Linked DNA regions of Homo sapiens: region 1 is linked to region 2. The links are contacts of gene promoters, found by promoter capture Hi-C in blood cells and fetal thymus (Javierre and others, 2016). All regions are on one chromosome and are shown on one strand. Each heading gives the region's core, a stretch centred on a gene start or on the middle of the fragment in contact. The rest is flanking DNA. Distances are from core to core; before and after follow the strand shown.

What was found. The method cuts DNA at HindIII sites, captures the fragments that hold promoters and counts their contacts. A CHiCAGO score of 5 or more calls a contact.
Region 1: a contact is called between a fragment that was not itself captured here and the fragment with the promoter of STYXL1 in region 2, in 1 of 17 cell types (fetal thymus). The highest score is 5.6, in fetal thymus.

What each region holds. Positions count from the first base shown.
Region 1 is chr7:74,084,589-74,091,219 of GRCh38, reverse strand. It overlaps LIMK1 (LIM domain kinase 1), which reads right to left. Exons shown (of 16, transcript NM_002314.4): 2 at 5,376-5,472. Among named protein-coding and RNA genes, the nearest start is that of LIMK1, 4.1 kb to the right of the region's middle. RefSeq lists enhancers at 85-585, 586-1,086, 4,894-5,491, 5,492-6,091, 6,603-6,631. The HindIII fragment of the contact is 1,980 bases long and covers 3,706-5,685 here.
Region 2 is chr7:76,046,037-76,052,530 of GRCh38, reverse strand. STYXL1 (serine/threonine/tyrosine interacting like 1) reads left to right here and starts at 4,531. Exons shown (of 9, transcript NM_001317785.2): 1 at 4,531-4,869. MDH2 (malate dehydrogenase 2) reads right to left here and starts at 4,425. Exons shown (of 9, transcript NM_005918.4): 1 at 4,305-4,425. The coding sequence starts at 4,370. RefSeq lists enhancers at 3,494-4,275, 4,551-4,630, 4,741-4,830, 4,276-5,058 and a silencer at 4,141-4,300. The HindIII fragment of the contact is 1,459 bases long and covers 3,563-5,021 here.

The DNA of each region.
Region 1 (6,631 bases), core at 3,446-5,945, 2.0 Mb after region 2:
GGGCACGGTGGCTCACGCCTGTAATCCCAGCACTTTGGGAGGCTGAGGTGGGCGGATCACGAGGTCAGGAGATCGAGACCATCCTGGCTCACACAGCGAAACCTCGTCTGTACTAAAAATACAAACAAACAAAAAAAAATTAGCCGGGTGTGGTGGTGGGCGCCTGTAGTCCCAGCTACTTGGGAGGCTGAGGCAGGAGAATGGTGTGAACCCGGGAGGCAGAGCTTGCAGTAAGCCGAGATTGCGCCACCGCACTCCAGCCTGGGCGACAGAGCGAGACTCAAAAAAAAAATCGCTTTAATAAATAAATAGCACCCCCTTACTGGGTTGTTGTGAGAGGGGCCTAATGCAGAGTGGGCACGCCATAATTATTTGCAAGTGACTGACTCAGGGACCCTAGGAAGTTCCACTGGGAGGGGCATGCAGAGGGGCCAGGAAAGTGGAAATCACTGGCCACCTCCCCAGTGGGGCTGGAGGCTGCAGACCCCTCATGGCCTTATCACATTGCCCCTGCCCGAACACCTTCAGAGGGGTGAGGGGCCCTGGAACAAAGGTCTCAGTGCATGAAATGAGGTCTGGGCCGGGCCCAATGCCTCAAGCCCAGGGCCCGAGGGAGACTAAGCAGAGTCTAGCACCTTGGGCATCCCACTGAGAGCCAGCCTGGCTGTGGTCAGCCATGCACCCAGGTGAGCAGTGACCCCCTCTGAGCTGCTCTGCTCACTGTCACGCGGTGAGGACCACCAGCTTTGGGGACTGTTGGGAGTATCACACCCACAAGCCACGAGGTAGAAGCCATGGCTCTTACTTCTAGTGGATCTTTCCCCATATTGAGACTTTTTTTTTTCGAGATGGAGTCTTGCTCTGTCACCCAGGCTAGAGTGCAGTGGCGCGATCTTGACTCACTGCAATCACTGCCTCTCGGGTTCAAGCGATTCTTCTGCCTCAGCCTCCTGAGTAGCTGGGATTACAGGCGCCCACCAACAGGCCCGGCTAATTTTTGTATTTTTAGTAGAGATGGGGTTTCACCATGTTGGCCAGACTGGTCTCAAACTCCCGACCTCAGGTGATCTGCCTGCCTTGGCCTCCCAAAGTGCTGGGATTACAGGCGTGAGCCACTGCACCTGGCTTCCTTCTTGAGTTTCACTACACCAGGGACAGCACAAACATGCCTCCTCTTTACTGCCCTGACCTGGGGACTCACCCCTCTCCTGGTGAGTGATTTGGGACAGGCCACTCCAAAGCCAGGTACACCCATCCTGTAACACGGCTTCCCTCCTGTGGCTTCTGTGGCTCTACTCCTGACCCTCTCTCCATCACCCAAGGCTCCATCTCCCCCCTCACCGCAGACACAGGGGTCCCCAAAGTTCTTCCCTTCATTCGTCTTGGCCCTATCACAAATCCCACTCACCATCTCAGGGCCAGCTCCGAGGCGGCCGTTTTTTCTGACTTTCCTACCTCCAACTGGACTCAGGCTCCCATGGCTAGCTCTGGGCAGGACACAGCCACCATGGATAGCCCATGTCCCCTCCAGCTCAACACAGATGAGCATGTCTCCTCCCCAACATGACCCCCAATTCCATCAGAGTCAACAAACCACCAACTCCCCAGTGCCCAGGTTAGAAAACCAGATGGCTTCAGGTTCCACCCTGCCATTCGCCAGTGCCCATGCCCTCCCCGAAGCCCCTGTCTTTTTCTTTCTTCCTTTCTTTCTTTTTTTTGAGATGGGATTTCACTCTGTCACCCAGGCTGGCTTGCAGTGGTGTGATCATAGCTCACTGCAACCTCCACCTCCCAGGCTCAAGCAACCCTCCCATGTCAGCGCCCTTGAGTAGCTGGGACTACAGGCACCACCACCATGCTCAGCTAATTTTTTTGTAGAGACAAGGTTTCACTATGTTGCCCACACTGGTCTCAAACTCCTGGGCTCAAGAGATCCACCTGCCTCCGCCTCCCAAAGGGCTGGGATTATAGGCATGTGCCACCGCCAGCCCCTGCCTTTCCTACTCTGTGGCGATGTGGAGTGAGAAGGTTTTAGTCCCAGCTCTAGATGTTACAACCTTCAGCGAGGCACTTGATTGCATGGAATCTCTGTTTCTCCCATGCAAACTGGGCACATACAGTCCCTCATAGAGTTATGATGAAGATTTAACAAATTAGCATGAAGAGTGCTCAATGCATGGTAGCCAATATGACAAATACTCACCAAAAACTGTCCCTTCTGCCTGAAATTCTCTCCATCCTCAGTCACTGTCCCAGGTCAGGTCCTATGAGCTCAGACCCTTGAGTTACTGGGACAGTCCCTTCCCTGCCTAGATACCACCACCGGCCCACTGGGATGGCATTCTTCAACAGCATGTCACCCCAGCCCCTCCCTGGCTTTCTGCCGACTCCCTTCTATTTTTTTTTTTTTTTTTTTTTGAGATGGAGTCTCGCTCTGTCTCCCAGGCTGGAGTGCAGTGACGTGATCTCAGCTCACTGCAGCCTCCGCCTCCCAGGTTCAAGTGATTCTCCTTCCTTAGCCTCCCGAGTAGCTTGGATTACAGTCATGTGCCACCATGCCTGGCTAATTTTTGAATATTTAGTAGAGACGGGGGTTTCACCACGTTGGCCAGGCTGGTCTCAAGCTCCTGGGGTCAAGTGATCTGCCTGCCTCGGCCTCCCAAAGTGCTGGGATTACGGGGATGAGCCACCACCCCCATCCTGACTTCTGAAACTCCTTATCTTGGCATTCAAGGCCCTTCACGAATCGGTCTCAACTTTGTTTCTTGTTGGATCCCTCAGCTTATTCTGTTCCTTCCAAGGGAACTGTTCCTGTTCCCTCAGCAGTCCGCACCATCCCACCGCTGTGCAGATGGTTTCCTCTGCCTGTTGAGAGCCCTCTTGCCCCCCGAAGGCCTCTTTCTGAGCACCTGATGCAGAATCCCAGGGCATGCTGTCTGTCTCCTTTCAGCCACACTGAGTGTGTTCATTTCACTCACTGGCTGTGTGACTTTCATCAAGAGAATTAACCTCTCTGTGTCCCAATTTTCTCTCTGGCAAAACAAAGACAGCACTAATATCTAACTATGCAAAGTACTTAGAACAGGGGTTGTCCCTTACTGAATGTTAGAAAACGTTAGACGTTATTCCTAAAAAAGAAAAAACAGGCTGGGCATGGTGGCTTATGCTTGTAATCCCAGCACTTTGGGAGGCTGAGTCAGAAGGATCGCTTGAACCAGTTGGAGCTGGAGGCTACAGTGGGCTATGATCTCACCACTGCACGCCAGCCTGGGTGACACAGCAAGACCCTGTGTAAAAAAAAAGAAAAGAAGAAACAAAAAAACAAACCGAGGCCAGGTGCAGTGGCTCATGCCTGTAATTCCAGCATTTTGGGAGGCTGAGGCGGGCAGATCACTTGAGGTCAGGAGTTCGAGACCAGCCTGGCCAACATGGCAAAACCCTATCTCTACTGAAAATACAAAACTTAGCCGGGCGTGGTGGTGCACACCTGTAATCCCAGCTACTTGGGAGGCTGAAGCAGGAGAATCGCTTGAACCTGGGAGGCGGAGGTTGCAGTGAGGAGGGATCGCGCCACTGCTCCCCAGCCTGGGCGACACAACAAGACTGTCTCAAAAAAACCAAAAACCAAAAAATAAACCAAGGCAGAAGCCTAAAATAAAGTCCTAGTGGTGGATGTCTTGACCCCTGCTGGGCATCCCAGAAGCTTCACCTTCTACCCTTTTATGGAGTTTTCTCCCCTGAACCTTGCTGTTTGGTGACTATGCCTGTAATTCTCTCCCACACCATTTGTTTTTCTTTCTTTCTTTTTTAAAAATTGAGACTGGGTCTCGCTCTATTGCCCAGGCTAGAGTGCAGTGGTGCGATCATAGCTCACTGCAGCCTCCACCTCCCAGGCTCAAGTAACCCTGCCACCTCAGCCTCTTGAGTAGCTGGGACTACAGGCATGCGCCACCACGCCCGGCTAATTTTTTGTATTTTCAGTGGAGACAGGGTGTTGCCATATTGCCCAGGCTTGTCTCGAACTCCTGAACTCAAGTGATCTGCCCACCTCAGCCCCAAAAAGTGATGGGATTATAGGTGTGAGCCACCACGCCCCACCTCCACTCTACTTTTCTACCCAGGAAATCTCACATCCTTTGAGACCCCTGCTCTGGCCCTGCTCTGGCTCAAGGCAGGTAGACCCCTGCTCCTGGCTTCTCAGGATGGTCCTACTGGGTGACCTTCAGGTCCTCATGTACTCTTTATCCTCCGCCACAACCCTGACCCTACTTTCTTCCTACCTGTGGGTGTGTGTCTGGACACTGGGGCTGGTGTGACTGGGTTATGCATGTTCGCAAGCAGCCTGGAAGACACTGAGGGTGGCCTGGTTTCCCTTAAGGCCTGGTTTGTCTTCCCTCCCTGCAAGAGCATGAACACCCAGAAGGCAGGAGGGACATTCCTTCCAACTCTTCCCCCTGTCTGGGTGCCAGCAGGGGGCTGAATTGCAGGCACTGGCTCAATTGGAGGTCTCTCCCATCCTCTCTAAGATTTAGATCTCAGAGATCTAGGATGACAACAGAGGCCAAGGCGTTAGCTCACGCCTGTAAGCCTAGCACTTTCGGAGGCCAAGGCAGGAGGATTGCTTGAGGTCACAAGTTCAAGACCAGCCTGGGTCTCAATAGTGAGACCCTGTCTTTACACAAAATTTAAAAAATTAGCTGAGCATTGTGGTGTATACCTATAATCCCAGCTACTCGGGAGGCTGAAGTAGGAGGATCACTTTAGCCCGGGAGATGGAGGTTGCAATGAGCCGAGATGGCACCACTGCACTCCAGCCTGGGCAACAGAGCAAGACCATTTCGAAAAAAGAAAAATACATAAAAGAAAATAAAATGAGGCCAGGAGCGGTGGTTTATGTCTGTCATCCCAGCACTTTGGGAGGCTGAGGTGGGAAGATCACTTGAGGTCAGAAGTTTCAGACCAGCCTGGCTAACATGGCAAAACCCGTCTCTACTAAAAATACAAAAATTAGCTGGGCGTGGTGGTGCACGCCTGTAATCCCAGCTACTCCAGAGGCTGACACAGGAGAACTGCGTGAGCCCAGGAGGAAGAGGTTGCAATGAGCCAAGATCGCACCACTGTACTCCAGCCTGGGTGACAGAGCGAGACTCCGTCTCAAAAAGAAAAAAAAATAGATAAATAAAATGACAACAGGAAGGCCTGTAGGGATTTTCTAGTCAAAACACCTCATGTCATAAATGGTAAATTAAGGCCACGAAGTCACAATAGGGGACGGCACCAGGAGGCATATCCCGGCCTCCCCCATTCCTTGACCAGCCTGTCCTCTCTGGCAGGCCTTGTTTAGGGCAACACAGGCCCTGGGCACCCCACCCTACCTGAAGCAGTCTGCGTGCCAGTCCGCGTTCAGGGCCTGGAGGTACTGGCCATCATAGATCCTCTGGCCGCAGCTTGCACACACGGGCAACTCGCTTCCTGCAGGGTGGGAAGGGAGTTGGGAAGCATTCTCAGGAAGTGTGATCTGGTGCAGGCCCAGCTTGCCCTGCCCACCCCACATATACCTACACCTGCACCAATCCTCGCACACTGCACATGTGCAGCGCCCAGGCAGGGCAGTCGCTGTGCCAAATAGGAGAAGAAAGGGCGCTGGCCTGAGTCTTGCTGAGATACTGACTAGGTTGCCAAGCTTCTCTGGCCCTGTTTCCCTATGTATCAGCTTAGGAGGAGGATCAGGTCCATCCTCCCGCTATAGCATTGGATCTGGCAAGGTAAATGAGGAGAAAGGAAGCAGTGGCTTTAGGGATAAGGCAGTGGGTGACATTCCTATCACAGCCTCCTTTCTTCCCTCTCCTGCCCAGGAAGAAGTACTAAGAGGGCCCTTCAAAGGCAGGGACTGGACAGGGCTGGATTAGTGCATCCTGGGCTGAAGCCAGCTGGGAGGTCAAGGGCAGGAAGCCTGGAGGTGCCGGCCCTAACAGATCCTTGGCAATGAATGCCCTGGCTTGGCAAGGGGAGGGGGCTGCAGACCTGGGTACTCCCAGACACCTGTCCCAGGGAGGCCTGGCACCTCCTCTAGCCAGCCACAGGCATGCTTAGTCATCCTTGGGGCCTGGCACCCTTGGAGCTGGTGGGCCCTGGAAAATGCCCCAGACCTGCCCCTCTCCACTGTACAGAAGGGGAGACTGAGCCCCAGAGATGGCATGGCTTGCCCAGTCACATAGCTAGGTCCCAAGGCCACAACAGCCTGACCCTCTGTGAAGACGCAGGTACCTTAGGTAGGCAGGGGCTACAGGAAGGTGGGCCCCTACCCCAATCAGGTTTTCATGGGCCTGGGAAGAGTTGGTGGCAGGGGGAGGTGTGGAGTCAGGCCCTGCCTTGGGGCCAGGTGGATCTAAGTGACAGGTCAGCGAAGGAGATCCAAGGAGGGGCCCCCAGACCCTGTCCTAGGCTGGGGGAGTCCTTGAACCCTAACTGCAGTGCAGTACTGCGCCTTGGGCCCCAGTGAGGGAGAAGGGGCTAAAGAGGAGGTTAGGATGAGTCATGCTCCCAGCCAAGACTGAGGGCAGGCACCGGGTTTGGGGCACGGACAGGGAGAGTGGATGAGGCTCCCGCAGTACACGGCCTCCGGCTTCCT
Region 2 (6,494 bases), core at 3,282-5,781:
CCAGGGCAGTGGTTCCACAGGGGAGTGGCCAAGACAATCCCACCAGGGTGGAGGATGAAACTGCTGCAATGAGTGTATCTTTTTTTTTTTTTTTTTTTTTGAGATAGGGTCTCCCTCTCTCACCCAGGCTGGAGTGCAGTGGTGCGATCTTGGCTCACTGCAACCTCTGCATTTTCGGTTCAAGCCATCCTCCCCACCTTAGCTGTAGCTGGGACTACAGGTACACACCACTCATTTTGTAGAAATGAGGTTTTGCCACACTGCCCAGGCTGGTCTCAAACTTCTGAGCTCAAGTGCTGGGATTATAGGTGTAAGCTACCATGCCCAGACTGTCTCTATCTTTATCTAACAAAGAATTAATCTCTACCAAGAAATGGACCGACCTGTGCCCTCGCTAGGGTGCTTAAATGGATGGGTCCCATGTGTACATAAGGTGAACACAACATGGGGGAGGGAGGGGAAGAAGACTGCCTCACTGGTTTCTTTGCTTTCACTTTGTCAAGGTGATGTCACTGTTTGTATATTACAGGATGTCACCAACTTAATTTTTACAAAACCACAATCCTTAAGTAGTATAATCTTTACATGCTTTGCAATGAGATGAAAATCTTTGGTGGCCCGGAGGTTAGATCATGATCTCCTTGTCAAAGAGCTGTCTTCCAGACCCGCTGACCTTTGCTGGGTGGCAGAGTGGCTATCAACAGCACACTGCTTGGCAACTGTGTTGAAAACCGACATATGTTAACACTGCCTTCATTTATAAGTTTTAACACTTTATAACGTGTTATGGTTTGTTTTAAAATTTCTACTTGAGTTTATATTGTAATGTATATATTAGTACATATACCTATAAGTAAATACATTGGGGCTATGTGCTTCCTACGCTTTTACTGTTAAAGATACAGGATCCAGCTAGGCGTGGTGGCTCACGCGTTTAATCCTAGCACTTTGGGAGGCTGAGATGGGCGCATCACCTGAGGTCGGGAGTTTGAGACCAGCCTGACCAACATGGAGAAACCCTGTCTCTACTAAAAATACAAAATTAGCCAGGCATGGTGGCGCATGCCTGTAATCCCAGCTACTCGGAAGGCTGAGGCAGGAGAATGGCTTGAACCTGGGAGGCGGAGGTTGCGGTGAGCTGAGATCGCACCATTGCACTCCAGCCTGGGCAACAAGAGCGGAACTCCGTCTCAAAAAAAAAAAAAAAAAAAATCCAAAGTCTGGAGACCACTGCACCATGGGCTCAAGCCCATCTTTCTTTCTGCTTTCATCAGCTGCCTTCTCAACAATGTCGCTTGTATGCCCAACAGGCATTTTAAATTGAACATATGAAAAACTGAGATCCTGGCCGGGTGTGGTGGCTCACGTCTATAATCCCAGTACCTTGGGAGGCCAAGACAGGTGGATCACCTGAGGTCAGGAGTTTGAGACCAGCCTGGCCAACATGGCGAAACCCCATCTCTACTGAAAATACAAAAAAAAATTAGTTGGGCGTGGTGGCAGCACCTGTAATCCCAGCTACTCAGGAGGCTGAGGTGAGAGAACCACTTGAACCCAGGAGGCGGAGGCTGCAGTGAGCCGAGATCACGCCACTGTACTCCAGCCTGGGCAACAGAGCGAGACTCTCAGTAAATAAATAAAAACTGAACTCCTGATATCTTCTCCCTGGTTAAACCCACTCTCTTCTATAAGTCTTGCCTATTTCAGCCCAACTCCAAGGCCCAAAACCTTGGTGTCATCCCCGACCCCTTATCTAATCACACATCAGCAAATCCTTCTGGTACCATCAATGAATACCCAGAATTCAATCATTTCTTACCACCTGCACCTAGATAACCACAATGAACTCCTAACCTACCTTTCTCTCACTCCTAAGACCATCTTGTTAAAATGGAAGGAAGAGCAAGTCATTACGCAGCTGAAAACCCTCAACTGGCCGCCCCATTTCTGAGAAAATACCAAAGTTTTACAAGGCCTGTTCTGTTACCTCCACTGCCTTCTCTGGAACTACCCTAGCCTCATTTTCTCAAACCTTCAAGGCATGCCCCATGCTTCTCCAAGGGCTCTCAGCTACATCCTGAGACATATCCCTTACCTGCAATACTCTTTCCATATGATGTGATCTCTGCTTCCTTCAGACTTTACTCAAACATCTCACTCTGCGTGAGGCCTACCCTGGCTGATGTAAAACTGCTACCCTCGGCTGGGAGTGGTGGCTCACGCCTGTAATCCCAGCACTTTGGGAGGCCAAGGAGGGTGGATCACTTAAGGCCAGGAGTTTGAGACCAGCCTGGCCAACATGGTGAAACCCCATCTCTACTAAAACTACAAAAATTACCCAGCTGTCGTAGCCCTTGCCTGTGATTCCCACCTACTCGGGAGGATGAGGCAGGAGGATAGCTTGAGCCCAAGAGTTGGTTGCAGTGAGCCAAGATGGCGCCACTGCACTCCATCCTGGGCAACAGAGTGGGACTCTGTCAGGTCCATCCTGGCCAACATGGTGAAACCCCATCTCTACTAAAAACACAAAAATTAGCTGGGCACGGTGGTGCGCGCCTGTAGTCCCAGCTATTCGGGAGGCTGAGGCAGGAGAATCGCTCCAACCTGGGAGGTGGAGGCTGCAGTGAACCGAGATCACGCCACTGCACTCCAGCCTGTCGACAGGGCGAGGCACTGCATCAAAAAAAGTAAATAAAATTGGTACCCTCTTCCCTAACACAAGCACCCTACAATCCCCATTTTTCTTGCATGTTCATCACTATTTTAAGATACTTTATAATGAGTGGGGCAATAAGTAAAATATCTAGTAATTTCCGTGAGAGCAGGGACTTCTGTGTTTTGTTCACCGCTGTATTTCCAGTACCTAGCTCAATAAATATGTCGGATATCTGAAGGTCCTACCAAAACTCAACCTCTCCCTGGACACCCCTGTCCTCTCTTTGGTTGGCTGCCCCTCCCCCACACCTCATCCCTCCTGTCCTGTTTACTCATTCCCTAAGACCTTCATCGCCTCCACCTGTCCTAAGTTTACTCATTCCCTAAGACCTTCATCGCTTCCACCTGTCCTAAGTTTACTCATTCCTGTCCCATATCAAGTGTCACTTCTCACTTATCTTGGTATCCCCTGCAGCACCCAGCATAGTTGTTGGCAAGCACAGGTACTTAATGTACTTATCTGTATACAGCTGGGCCCCCACTTCACCGCAGCGCAAAAGCATTTGGTACATTCAACTTACAATGGGGTTGCCTGTGGGAACCCATTGCAAGTTGAAAATACACAAAGTTAAACTCGCCTTTTGACTTAGGATATTACCAACTTGCGATGGGTATGGGAAGTAGCCATCAATCCAGGAGCATTTGTATTTATTTTTCAAATGAACTGGATGTACAGGAAACTCGAGAACTTCGATGATAAATTTGGATTCCCCTTTAAAATTACCTCCCTCTTGGGCGTCGTAATTAAAAGGCAATGCGAGCACCTCCTGGGTTCTCAAAATTAGGTTTAATTAGATTCACCTGGTAAAAATGCGGACCCCCCCCCCCCCCCCCGCAGTCTTAAGCTTCTTCAATGAACCCAGACGTCTGTTTTTTATTAGCTTTCTGGTGATTCTGACACACTGCAGAGTTTAAGAACCACCATTCTAGAAGATGGCTAAAAATAGCCTAGGCTCCTAGGCTTAAGTGGTCGCGGGCCAAGTCAAGCACTGTTAAGACACCTGGCGGCAGGCTCAGTCCGCCCACAGCAGGAGAGATCCTCCAAAAAGGTTAAGAGGAAGCCGTCTTCAGGTCAGAAGCGCTGAATTCTAATCCTCTGGCCAAATGACTGTAACCCTGGCCCAGTTCTCTAGCCTCGGTTTGTCCATACTATGGAATTAGGAAGTATACGATTTCTTTTATTCACGCACAACTCACACGGATGCTGCAAGGAGATTAGCTACGTCAAAGCAATGGAACGCTGCAGAAAAAAACGTAAGTTTACTTTCAGATGCAGAGCCCTGGTTTCCCAACCTTGAAGGCGTGCAAGCCAAGAGCAGGTCCTCTGGGAAATCTGGGAGACCTGGGGGAACCCTGACAAATGGACCGGCCCTGGAGCGGGACTACCTCGCCCCCTTTTCCCCGGCTTTCTCCCCCGCACCTCCAGGCCAGTGTCAGGGCCTGCCCCGGGCGCCACAGTCTCCAGCCAGTGCCGGGCATCCCTGCGGTCCAGGCTGGCCTGGAGAGGGTCAGAGCTGCCCGCGAACCGGGGACGCACGTGGCCCGGGCCGGGGGGCCTCCGCCTGCAGGCCGCCCCTCGTCTGGCCTACCTGGGCCGAGGTGCTGAAGCTGCGGCGGAGAGCAGCGCTGGCAGGCCGGGCGAGGGCGGAGAGCATGGCTGGAGCGGGAGGGGCACCGACTGGCAGGCACAGGAGCTGGTGACGGGGAAGTGACTCCAACGACCTCCACACTGCCCAGCGCCTGCTCTCTGGGGCCTCGCGAGAGTGACCGGACTTCCGGTCGCGCTCGCCTCCGGGATCTCGTGAGATCACGGCCACTTCCGGGAGTCGGAAAGGAAAGCTGTGGGACCATCCTGGCAACCCCGGTGTTTGGCTGGGTTCTAGCGTAGCCGTCTGTGTGGCCGGTGGGGGACCTGCGGTCGGAGTGGGAGGGCCAGTCTGCACCCAAGAGGTGGAAGAGGACGGGCTTTAGGCTGGAAGCGCCTTAGAGGAGCCATTTTTCCAGGTGGGGCCCCAGGCAGAGGCTCCGACAGGGAGCCTGGCCATAGTCGCGCAGCCGGGGAGGTGGAGCGCGTCCCAGACCCGAGCCCCCGACCTCAGCCAAACCCATTCCTTCTGCCCTTGGAGGCCAGAGGGGACTCTGAGCTCCGGAAAGGTAGGGTCAGGGAGGCTGAGAGTCCTTAGGCGGGGTGGGAGGAAGGGGCCATCTCCTCAGATCCGGGCCGTCGTTTCCCAAGTTGCAGAGACCCTTGGGTTCAGGTTTAGTGACACCACTGCTGATAATGGCGACCTCCAGCCCTGCAAGCTTTAGAGGACCACTATTCTGTGTTCCAGATGAGCAAATAGGTTGTAGGGACAACAACTTCCGTGGTCATACAGTTCCTGTCTTCTCTCGCCTGCCCGGCAGTGCTCTGACGGTCCCACTGTTTCTGCTTTACGAATAAAGACACTGTGGCTGAGGCCAAGTGGATTTGTAGAGTTTACGCAGACAGAAAGTCGAGTAGAATTCCTTGCTCACAATGAGTTTATTACTTAAATGTATGAATTTATTTATTTTTTTGAGACGGAGTCTCTCTAGCCCAGGCTGGAGTGCAGTGGCGCGATCTTGGCTCACTGCAACCTCTGCCTGTCAGGTTCAAGTGGTTCTCCTGCCTCATTCTCCTGAGTAGCTGGGATTAGCGCACCACTACACCTGGCTAATTTTTTGTATTTTTTTTTTAGTAGAGACGGGGTTTCACCACGTTGGTCAGGCTGGTCTCGAACTCCTGACCTCGTGATCCACCCGCCTCGGCCTCCCAAAGTGCTGAGATTACAGGCGTGAGCCACCGCGCCCGGCCTGATACATATTTTTAAAATTAAACAACACCCCCAGGCAAGGTGGCTCATGCCTGTAATCCCAGCACTCTGGGAGGCTGAGGCGGGCCGATCACTTGAGGCCAGGAGTTCATGACCAGCCTGGCTAACATGGTGAAACCCCATCTCTACTAAAAATACAAAAATTAGCCCAGCGTGGTGGTGTACACCTGTAGCCCCAACTACTCCGGAGGCTGAGGCAGGAGAATCGCTTGAACCCGGGAGGTGGAGGGAGGTTGCAGTGAGCCGAGATAACCCCACTGTACTCCAGCTTGGGCGACGGAGAAAGACTCTGTCTCAAAAAAAAAAAAAAAAAAAGCCGGGTGTGGTGGCTTATGCCTGTAATCCCAGCACTTTGGGAGGTCAAGGCGGGCAGATCACCTGAGGTCAGGAGTTTGAGACCAGACTGGCTAATGTGGCGAAACCCCATCTCTACTAAATATACAAAAATTGGCTGGGCATGGTGGCGTGTGCCTGTAGTCCCAGCTACTCAGGAGGCTGAGGCAGGAGAATCCCTTGAACCCAGGAGGTGGAGGTTGCTGTGAGCCAAGATTGTGCCATTGTACTCCATCCTGGGTGATAAGAGCTAAACTCCGGCTCAAAAGCGCGCGCGCGCGCGCGCGCACACACACACACACACACACACACACACACACACACACACACACACACACACACACACACACACAGCAGATAAGCTGAGACATGCTGGAAGAGTAGGTGTTTCTCAATGGAACATTCAACTCCAGAGGAGGGAAAGATCCCTTGCCTTGGAATCAGAATTCTCAAAGGAGGGGCACTAGGGCCTGAGCATTTAACAATGGGAAATGTTTAGACAGGAAAGGAGGAGAAAAAAGGCCAAATAAAATCCTAGCGGGAAAAAATAAGCATAGGCCAGTATTCAGGGGACAGTGAATAGATCATTTA